Linked DNA regions of Homo sapiens: region 2 is linked to region 1. The links are contacts of gene promoters, found by promoter capture Hi-C in blood cells and fetal thymus (Javierre and others, 2016). All regions are on one chromosome and are shown on one strand. Each heading gives the region's core, a stretch centred on a gene start or on the middle of the fragment in contact. The rest is flanking DNA. Distances are from core to core; before and after follow the strand shown. Region 1 holds the start of CHST1 (carbohydrate sulfotransferase 1). Region 2 has its middle 52 kb from the start of LINC02687.

Evidence for each region. The method cuts DNA at HindIII sites, captures the fragments that hold promoters and counts their contacts. A CHiCAGO score of 5 or more calls a contact.
Region 2: a fragment that was not itself captured here is called in contact with the fragment with the promoter of CHST1 in region 1 in 2 of 17 cell types (M1 macrophages and M2 macrophages); the score reaches 5.3 in M1 macrophages.

The regions. Positions count from the first base shown.
Region 1 is chr11:45,663,350-45,667,526 of GRCh38, forward strand. It overlaps CHST1 (carbohydrate sulfotransferase 1), which reads right to left and starts at 2,273. Exons shown (of 4, transcript NM_003654.6): 1 at 1,829-2,273. RefSeq lists an enhancer at 1-115. The HindIII fragment of the contact is 4,208 bases long and covers 99-4,177 here.
Region 2 is chr11:45,421,664-45,425,840 of GRCh38, forward strand. No RefSeq gene overlaps it. Among named protein-coding and RNA genes, the nearest start is that of LINC02687, 52 kb to the left of the region's middle. RefSeq lists an enhancer at 1,247-1,747. The HindIII fragment of the contact is 5,858 bases long and covers 1-4,177 here.

The sequences.
Region 1 (4,177 bases), core at 1,023-3,522:
TCGGCAAGGGTTGGGGGGAGAGTGGTCAGGGGGATACATCCCTCTCCCAGCAGGGGCCTGTGACTCACAGAGATGGCTCAGGGGCCAGGACAGAGGGAAGCTTGACTTTGGATGTTGGGGAGGAAACCCCTGGCCAAAAGCATTGCAACTACTCAGCAAAGAGGGAGATTTGGATTTTAGGGAAAATGCGTTTCTGCTTTGAGATGGGGAAGCCGGGTGTTGAGTGAAGGGGGCTGGGGGTGGCACCTGGCCATGATTTTGAAGACCCAGCAGAGTTTGGGGGATGATTAGCAGAGACTTGCTCTCCCTGGTGCCCCTCCCCTCCCCACCCCATCACTGTGAAGCATCCTGGCCTAGGGCTGCTCACCGCCAGGATGAGGGACTGGCAACAGGAAAATCAAAGGTGCCATGCCAGGCTCCTGGCCTCCTGCAGGGGTTCAAGGCTCAAGGGCAAATCCACCCATTCCTTTCCCCAGCAGCTCCCTAAAGACCCGGTAGGGAGGGGAATTGAATAGGTTGGAAGCCTGATACCTCCCTGGTGAATGTGATGTGTGAGTCATGACGATGAAAGCACTTTGAAAAAGAAACAGGGTCATCATGATGCCTGGAAGTGTCCCCACTGCTGAGGACAGGAGCCTGGGAACTGCCTGCCCAGGTAAGGTCTCTGCCTGAGACAGCAGGCCCCACTGCAAGGGGCTGAGGAACCTCTGGAGGTAGACACCTGGCCCACTCGTTCCCACCTGCTTGCCTCTGACGTCCCTGTGCTGGTCAAAGCAGCTTCCTCCCAGCCAGGGTGCCTGACTCCTGCGCCCAAGCCTGCCCCCAGCTCCTCCCACCCCTCCAGAAGTTGCTGGACTGAATTTCTGTCCTTGACTGGACAGCCACCTCCCCTGCCCCAGCCTCCAGCTCCCTGTCAATGGCCGGCCCAAGCCCGTCTTCAGGCACCTGGACCCTAGGAGTGGCCCTTCCTAGGGAGTCCGCTGCCGAAGAGCAGTTTTAAGTCCACCAAGAGGAAGCCGGCCCCAGAGCTGAGGAAGGCAGTCCTGTGAAAGGGCAGGCCCGGGGTGGGGGAGGGGGCACACCTGAAATCAGGCCAAGGTGCCACTCCAGGACGACCCCCGGGTCTTACCTTCCTCAGGCAGCCTGGCCTTTTAACGCCCAGCATCCCAGCTAGGGTTACTCTGGGCTGTTACCGCGAAAGCCAGCACTGGGTCCCTGGAGCCTGGGAGGGGCTGATCCCCGGGTCCTACCCAGAGAAGAGCGGGAGGGTTGTTCCGGCTTTCCGTGGTGGGCTCTGCACCATCCGGCGGCTCCGGCCCCACAGGGGCCCAGCTCATCGCAGCGGTCTGGGTGCGGAGGCCGGGCCAGGGCTGGGAGCAGGAAGCAGGGAGCGGCGCCCCCGCCTCCGGGTGCAGCTGGGTTTGGAAAGTTGGTGCGGGCGCGGGGACCTCAGGGTCTCAAGGCGCCTCCGCAGACCCGAGCCAGGCGGGTCGTGGGACGGTGAGCCCGGAGCAGCCCCTGAGTGCGCTCCGCAGCGGAGGGGAGCCAAGCGCCTCGGGGGCCACCGCGCGTCTCAAGTTTGCTGCCCTCCTCGAATGGGGGCAGGGAGGGCTGAGGTGATCGCGGCGCTCACCGGCCACCAGCCCCGGCAGCCCCTTCCTGCGCCCAACACGCCGCCGTTCCTCGCCGCCGCCACCCCTCCGCTCACCGCCGGTAGCTGCTGTCCCCGAGCGGAGGGGCGTCTCCCACCGCGCCCGCGCCCCTCCCGGCTGCTGCGGCGGAGTGTCCGCTCCCGCCCGCCCCGGAGCCCGCGGGGCCCGGCCAATACCTGGTCGGGGACGCGCCGGGAGCAGCTGCAGCGCCCAGCGCCGGCTCCATCCTCGGGTCTGGAGTCAGGGTCGCCGGGGACCCGCGGGTGGCGGCGGCGGCAGCAGCCGCGGCGGCATCCTCCGCCTCCCGCGCCCTCCTCCTCGGCCTCCCTCCTCCCTCCTCTTCCTCCGACTCCGCGCGCGCCTCACGGGCCCCTCTTCATGGCCCGGGGGCGCGAGCCCGGGGCGGCTCGAGCAGCTGAGTGCGTTCTCTCCGGCCGGACGCGGGACCCGGGGCCGGGGCTCAGGGACCCGAGAGATGCCGGGACAGGGGCCGGGACCCGGAGCGCCGCAGCCCCGGGCGCCGGAGGAGAGCAGCAGCCGCAGGCACCAGAGCCTCTCGGAGCGCCCGCCCGCGTCCCCGAGCCAAGAGCAGCGGCGGCAGCGGCGGCTACAGCTCCGAGCGAGCGGCAGGCGCTGCGGTCCCGGCTCCACCCCCGAGCCGCCCGCCCCTTCTCCTCCCCACCCCTTCGGCGCGCGCCTTCCCGCCCCCCGCGCCGCCCCAGCCGCGAGCGCCCTGGACACCCACTCCGCAGCCAGGCTCCGGAGCCCGCCCCCACCCACCCGCCGGGGGCAGCCACGCCCACCACCCGGACTTCGGGCGGCCGGCGGGCAAGGGCACCGGCTGTCTCTGGCACCTCTCCGCGTAGCCTCCCTTCCCCTTACCCCCGAGGGCGCTGCTGGCCGGGCCGCCAAAGCCTTTCGCCCCCCCAGCGCCCCTCGCCGCGGAAGTCCTGCTGGAGTCCCAGCCTGGCCCCTGGCCCAGCTGTCCTTTACCTCTTGCCCAGCCAGCGGCACAGAGGGACTTCAGAACCCAGAACTGAAGCCAACCATCTCTGTGTGCAATACCCTGACACACACCCCTAGCCTTTCCTCCTTCCCCGCCCCTCTGCTTCTCAAGTGTGGGGATGAATCATTTGTCCCCGCTGCAGTTGTCCCTCTTGGGCAGGGTCAGGGGGTGTCTTAATGGGACCTTAGAGTGGGTTTGCTGGCTGACCGTCTTCTAGGCCGCTCCTCCACACTGCCCACCTTCTTCCTACCAGACTGCCCCTGGCTTTCTAGGTGGCAATCTGGAGCCACCACTGCTTTTATGGATGAGGGATGGGGACAGAGCTGGCCAGCCGAGCACCTTGGGCCTGTATCCTCTGCACAAATATTGACTGAGCATCTTCCACAGGCCTGGCCTTCATGGGCACCAGGGACTGGTTGATGAACCTCTCAGAGTGGAGTGGAGGAGAAGCAGGGTGCATGAGCAGAGCAATATCATGTGATCAGTGGCCCCTGGGCTGGAGAGGACGGCCAGGAGTCCCAGCTCTGCCACCACATCTGACATGACTGAGGCTGCCCACCCCAGTGGCCTGTTTCCTCATCTGGAGACTAGGAAGGTGCTTTGTCTGGCTGAACCTCTGATGCTCCTCAGTTCTGACCAAATGGTTATTTCTGAAGCAGAGGAACAGTCAGCCTTCATCTCCACCTGGAATCTCTGATTCCCGACTATAGCTCTCCATCACTCCTGGACTGGGGCGCAGAGAGCAGTGGATGGCTTGAAAACTCCAGGCATTCTGGGAAAGCCTCGTCCCCGATGTATGGGCAAGCAGCTGCTGCCTCCATCCCACACAGTGAAGCACAGCAGAATGGTTAGCACAGCAGTTTCCTGGGTCAGAGGAACCTGCTGTGTGTTTGCTGGGTGACTTTGTGTGAGTGATCAGCCTCTCTGCGGCTCAGTTTCCTCATCCAGAAGACAGAGGTACTGATCCTCACCCTGTAGGGGTGTTGTGAACACTGGATGGTAATGTGTGTAGAGCATTCAGCAGTGTCTGGCAAGGGGGTGAGTACTTAATAATTGCACATTGTTGCGTTCAGGGTAGCCAGGAACAAACATTCACTCACTCGCCAAGAGGAGAACATGACAGCTGCACTTCCCTGGAGGACTGGGCTCTCGGGTCATCAAGAAGGTCTCCCTCTCTCCACCCAGAGCAGATGGTATGAAGGCCCTTGCCCCAAGGGTCCCACTAGACCAAATGGTCATTTATCTTGGTCACAATTGCAAACTCATAACTATAAACTCCTCTCCCCCATCTCCACCCCCATCAAGCTGGAGGGGCTAACAGCACCTTCCAGTGCGCATTCCTGTAGCCACAGCACCTGGGATGGCAGAGTCAGTCCTCAGTCCTGACTCCAAGGCTACCAAGTCTGTTTCTCCACCTGCCTTCCCCCTCCCCACCCCCACCCAGGGAGTGGCAGCGTACTGAGATGCCTAACAAGAGTGGTGCTGACCTTCCAAAAGCTAAGACTTCATGTTTCCAAAT
Region 2 (4,177 bases), core at 1,003-3,502, 240 kb before region 1:
AAATGGTGTTCTAGGCAGTAGGAGCCTCCTCTGCAAAAGCACAGACCCAGCTGTTTCCTAGCTCTGGTGGAGCTGGTGGGAGGGGGCTGGTCCCTTCCTCTCTCATAGGCTGTGGGAGGAGAGTGCTGGCCAAGCCATGGGCAGACTCCTCTGAGTTCCCCCATGAGGATGGAGACAGGTCCAGTCAGGGGCTGGCCAGAACAGGGGTGTGGAGCCAGCATCTGAGCTGAGACTCAGGGCAGATCTCTGAAACAGAAGTCAAATCCAAGGTTCCTTTAAGACCCATTCACTACTTGGCTTCCCCTAGAGACACCCTGCATTTGCTATTCTGTGCACTTTCCACGTGTTTGCAAGTTTTGATTGAACAAACACTGGCTGGGGCACAGTGAACCCAAATAATTGTGTGCCTGTCAACGGTACATGTTAATTGGAGAGTTGTAGAGTCCGCAGGATGGGTCACAAGGGAAAAGCCAATTACTCCATGTACCTGTTTGAAAGGCTCCCGCTCCTGGATTCCTGACTGGCATTAGAAAGCTCTGTATTGGTCCATGTTATTGATTTTCCTCCTGCCTCAGTTGATGGGCTCGTTAATTGACAATTACCTTTTTCCCTGTGTTGGGAAAATTGACAACAACGACCCGAAGTGTTCAAGTTTCATTTGAGCCGAGCTAGGCCTTTACCTGTTTAACCTATAACAAGTCCCAGGAGGCAACTCTGGGGAGCGGGAGCCTCCAAGGAGGCACCAGGGATGTTCAGGGTGAGCTTGGGTGCTATCGGATGCTGACTAGGGCATGGAGCCTGCCAGGGCCAAAAGCCTGAGGGTGGAGTTGGGCCCAGGCAGACTGAGGCCTATACACAAAAGCTCCCATTGAGACCAATTCATGTGTGGCTCCAGCAGGCAGTGAAGCAGGGGATGGCTGTTTCCTGAACACCTACTATGCACCAGACACTTGCTCCTAATTGCACTCCCCATAAACTTTTAATATTACAGGTAAGCTCTATATCTGTTATATACTGTATGTATGCTTTATATGTAAAACAAGTAATATTTTTTGTTCTGTTCCCCGACACAGAAAACAAATTGTTGCTGTGTTAGGGGGCAATATCGTCCCCACTGAGAATGTATGGTGTAGAGAAACTAAGGCAAGGACCCTGGAATATAGATTTGGTGGGGCTGGGGTCCCACTTACTCCAGACACACTGGGTATGGGCAGCAGAGCTTGGTCAAGGATAAAGGCTTAGGCATCTGGCTTGGGTTCAAGTCTCTCCTATGGCACTTAATGTTTGGCTTAACCTCTCTGAACCTCAGTCTTCTCATCTGTTAAATGGATCTGGAAACAGGATTCACTTTCCAGTGGCTCATAATGGTAATACAATGAAGTAATGTATGTAGAGTGCTTGGCACACAGTAAGCTCTCAATAAATTACAGTGGCTACTATGGTCATTACTTCCGGAACCCACTTGGTGATGAAGCAAGGATTCTTGGCATGCTCCCTGCTCCTCAAGGGCACAGCTATATCTTATTCATCTTGGTGGCCCTGGCCCTTGGTGGGGGCTGGGCAGCATCTGTTGCTGTGTGAACCGTCAGCTCTTGGGCAGGTTTGTTCTGGCTCTGATCAGGCCAAACAGCAGAAGAAAAGATCGGGGACAACAGGGGCTGCCCACGAGAACCTGGGGGCCACGTGTTCCTCTGGGAACACCATGTCCAGCCACCAAAAGGAAATTGCTGTTTTAGCCTCTGCAGATGTGTGAGCGACTTCAGAGACTTCCTTAAACTTCCGCCTCCCTCTGAAGTTGCCCAGCCAGACCATCTGCCCAAGGCTGACCCAATGTGCCCAAGGAGTCTGACGTTTTCTGCTTAGATGGGGGAAAACCCCGTTATTCCCGTTATTGAATGCCTGAGGGTCGGGGCTTGAAGGCTCAGTGCTAGCTGGCACCAGTCTCCTCCTCTTAGCCCAGCCGGGAGGTCAGACACTCTGGCATGGGATCAACAGCTACCCTGCCTGAAGAGTCACGCCTCTCAGACCAAGGGGCAAACTTTACAAGGACCAAAACCTTCCCCAGAGCTCTGTCGTGGGAGGTGGCCACTTGAGTGTTGCCAGTACCAACGGGACTGTTGCCATTTTATAATAGCTAAAGTTTCTAATTCAAATTCAGCAGAGGCATTCCCTTTCCCTCCCCACCCCCACCCTACCCCAATTATGCCTGGCATTTGACACTGTGCAGCCTCTTGGAGACTTGAGAGTTTTCACTGTACACCATGGCAGAGAAAACACACATCATCACAAACCCACCCAGTAGGCACAAGCCACAGACTTGGCTGGGTGCACTGATTTTCAATTATTTTTAAGCTGTTTATCCCCTTCTTCAAGTGAAATCTTATGTGGAGGCCAATTTATATCCAACAGTTACAAATAGCCCTAATGTGTGACAGGAACAGAAATTAACCCGTGTGTGAATATCTCCAGCTTTCTCCCAGCCCATCCCTCTTGCTTTCCAGACAGGCCTCAAGGGTTCTTCTTTGTGTATGTGATCACTATAGCGAGCGAGAGGAAAGAGAAGTAGAAGAAGCCTGACACCTGGTTGCTCTTCTTCCCTGCAACTCCTTCTCCTCTCCCTCCCCCTAGACCCCAAAACTCCAAGGATGCAATTTGAAAGTTACCAGTTGGTGGTGATGGGTTCAAATCCCAGCCCAGCACTCACTAGCCAGATCACCAGGAGCAAGTCACTTTGCCTCCCTGAGCCTCTATTGGTCAACTGTTCAAAATGAGAAAAAGAATCTCGTTACCCTTTCTCACTGCACTGCCACCGGGACAGAATGGATCTGTCAGTGTGAGAACAAAGTCTGAGGGGCTGTCCTGGGAACTGGGAAATCACCCTGTTGAGTTTTGTGTCTTTTGGACCCTTTAAGGTGGCAGGTGGCAGAGGCAGACACTCCACTGACTGTTCAGGATGCCAAGCCTGGGAAATCCAAACTGCTTATGTTTTGCTTGGAGAAAATTTTAAAAAAGGAATAGCACTTTCCTTTCCCATTCCATGGAGCAGGACCTGCTTTGCGCTCTGTTCTGAACATTTCGTTCTCTGAGTTTTGAAAGTATTCCTGTTCTGGTTTTGTTTGTGATTCCTATTTCTGCAGAGGAGAAATTTCAGCCACTGGAGCGGTAGTTGGAGGCCTCTCCGGGGCTTTTTCTGGGGCTCAGAGCAAGATGGTTTTAGGTGCTGCCCAAACATCGCTCTCCCCTGGGTATTCTTCCATGACCCAGTCTTTCTTCCCGGGGGGAGGCAGCAGGGACGAGATTGAGGTCCCTCACTGTGCAAAGAGGTAGGAATTGATGAGTTTCTCTGCACAGGTCCTGGTGACACTTGTGTGGGGTCTGGCTCAGTTCTCATCCCACTTACAGTGAAGGGGCCTATGTGTGGGGTGGAGGGGCCTTCAGGATTGCCCTGCCTAGAAACCAGAAGAGGGACACCAGCAGGGCCAAGTGGAAGCCACTTGCTTTTGGCAATTTGGAAGGGAAGACACTATAGGGAACCAGTGACTGCCAAGAGTCTCCTGTTGCCATGCTCTGTTCTGGGAGCCTTCTAAATGGCAGCTCATTACATCCTCAAGTGACTCTGTAAGGCAAGCAGAATTGTCCCCTTCTGGGGATGGGGAAATAGAGGTTCAGAGGAGTTAATGACTTACCTAGGACCCCACAGCTAATAAATGTGGTCGAGCCAGGATGGACAGAAGCCAAGAAGAGACTATCACTCAGTGAGATGGGGGAGACATTGGGAAGGGGGGCTTCCCAGGAGCCAGACCAGGTCTTGGAATTCATGTGCCCACAGGTCAAGGTGATCTGAAGCAGTTGGCTGGGCTGATTAGTAGGGGGCATCATCCATGCTGACAATGATGGTTTTTTGAGGATTACTGAGTGCATGTTGGTGGGTAAGAGGAACTCTGCTGAGGAATCTGAGGAGGCTGTTTGAGCCCAGCTGGGAGAAATGAGGGGAGGAGGTGGGCCCAGGATATTTAGCAACGCTGCAGCCTGTGGAGTCACTGACCACACAATGTTATTGCTTATGTCCCACGGCTGTTCTACTGAATGAGAGGGTTCAGGTTGGTTCTTGCAGGTCTGATCTTGGTCAGGGATACGGTCCTCTCTTCTGTGCTACTATCACCATCACTCTAGAAGT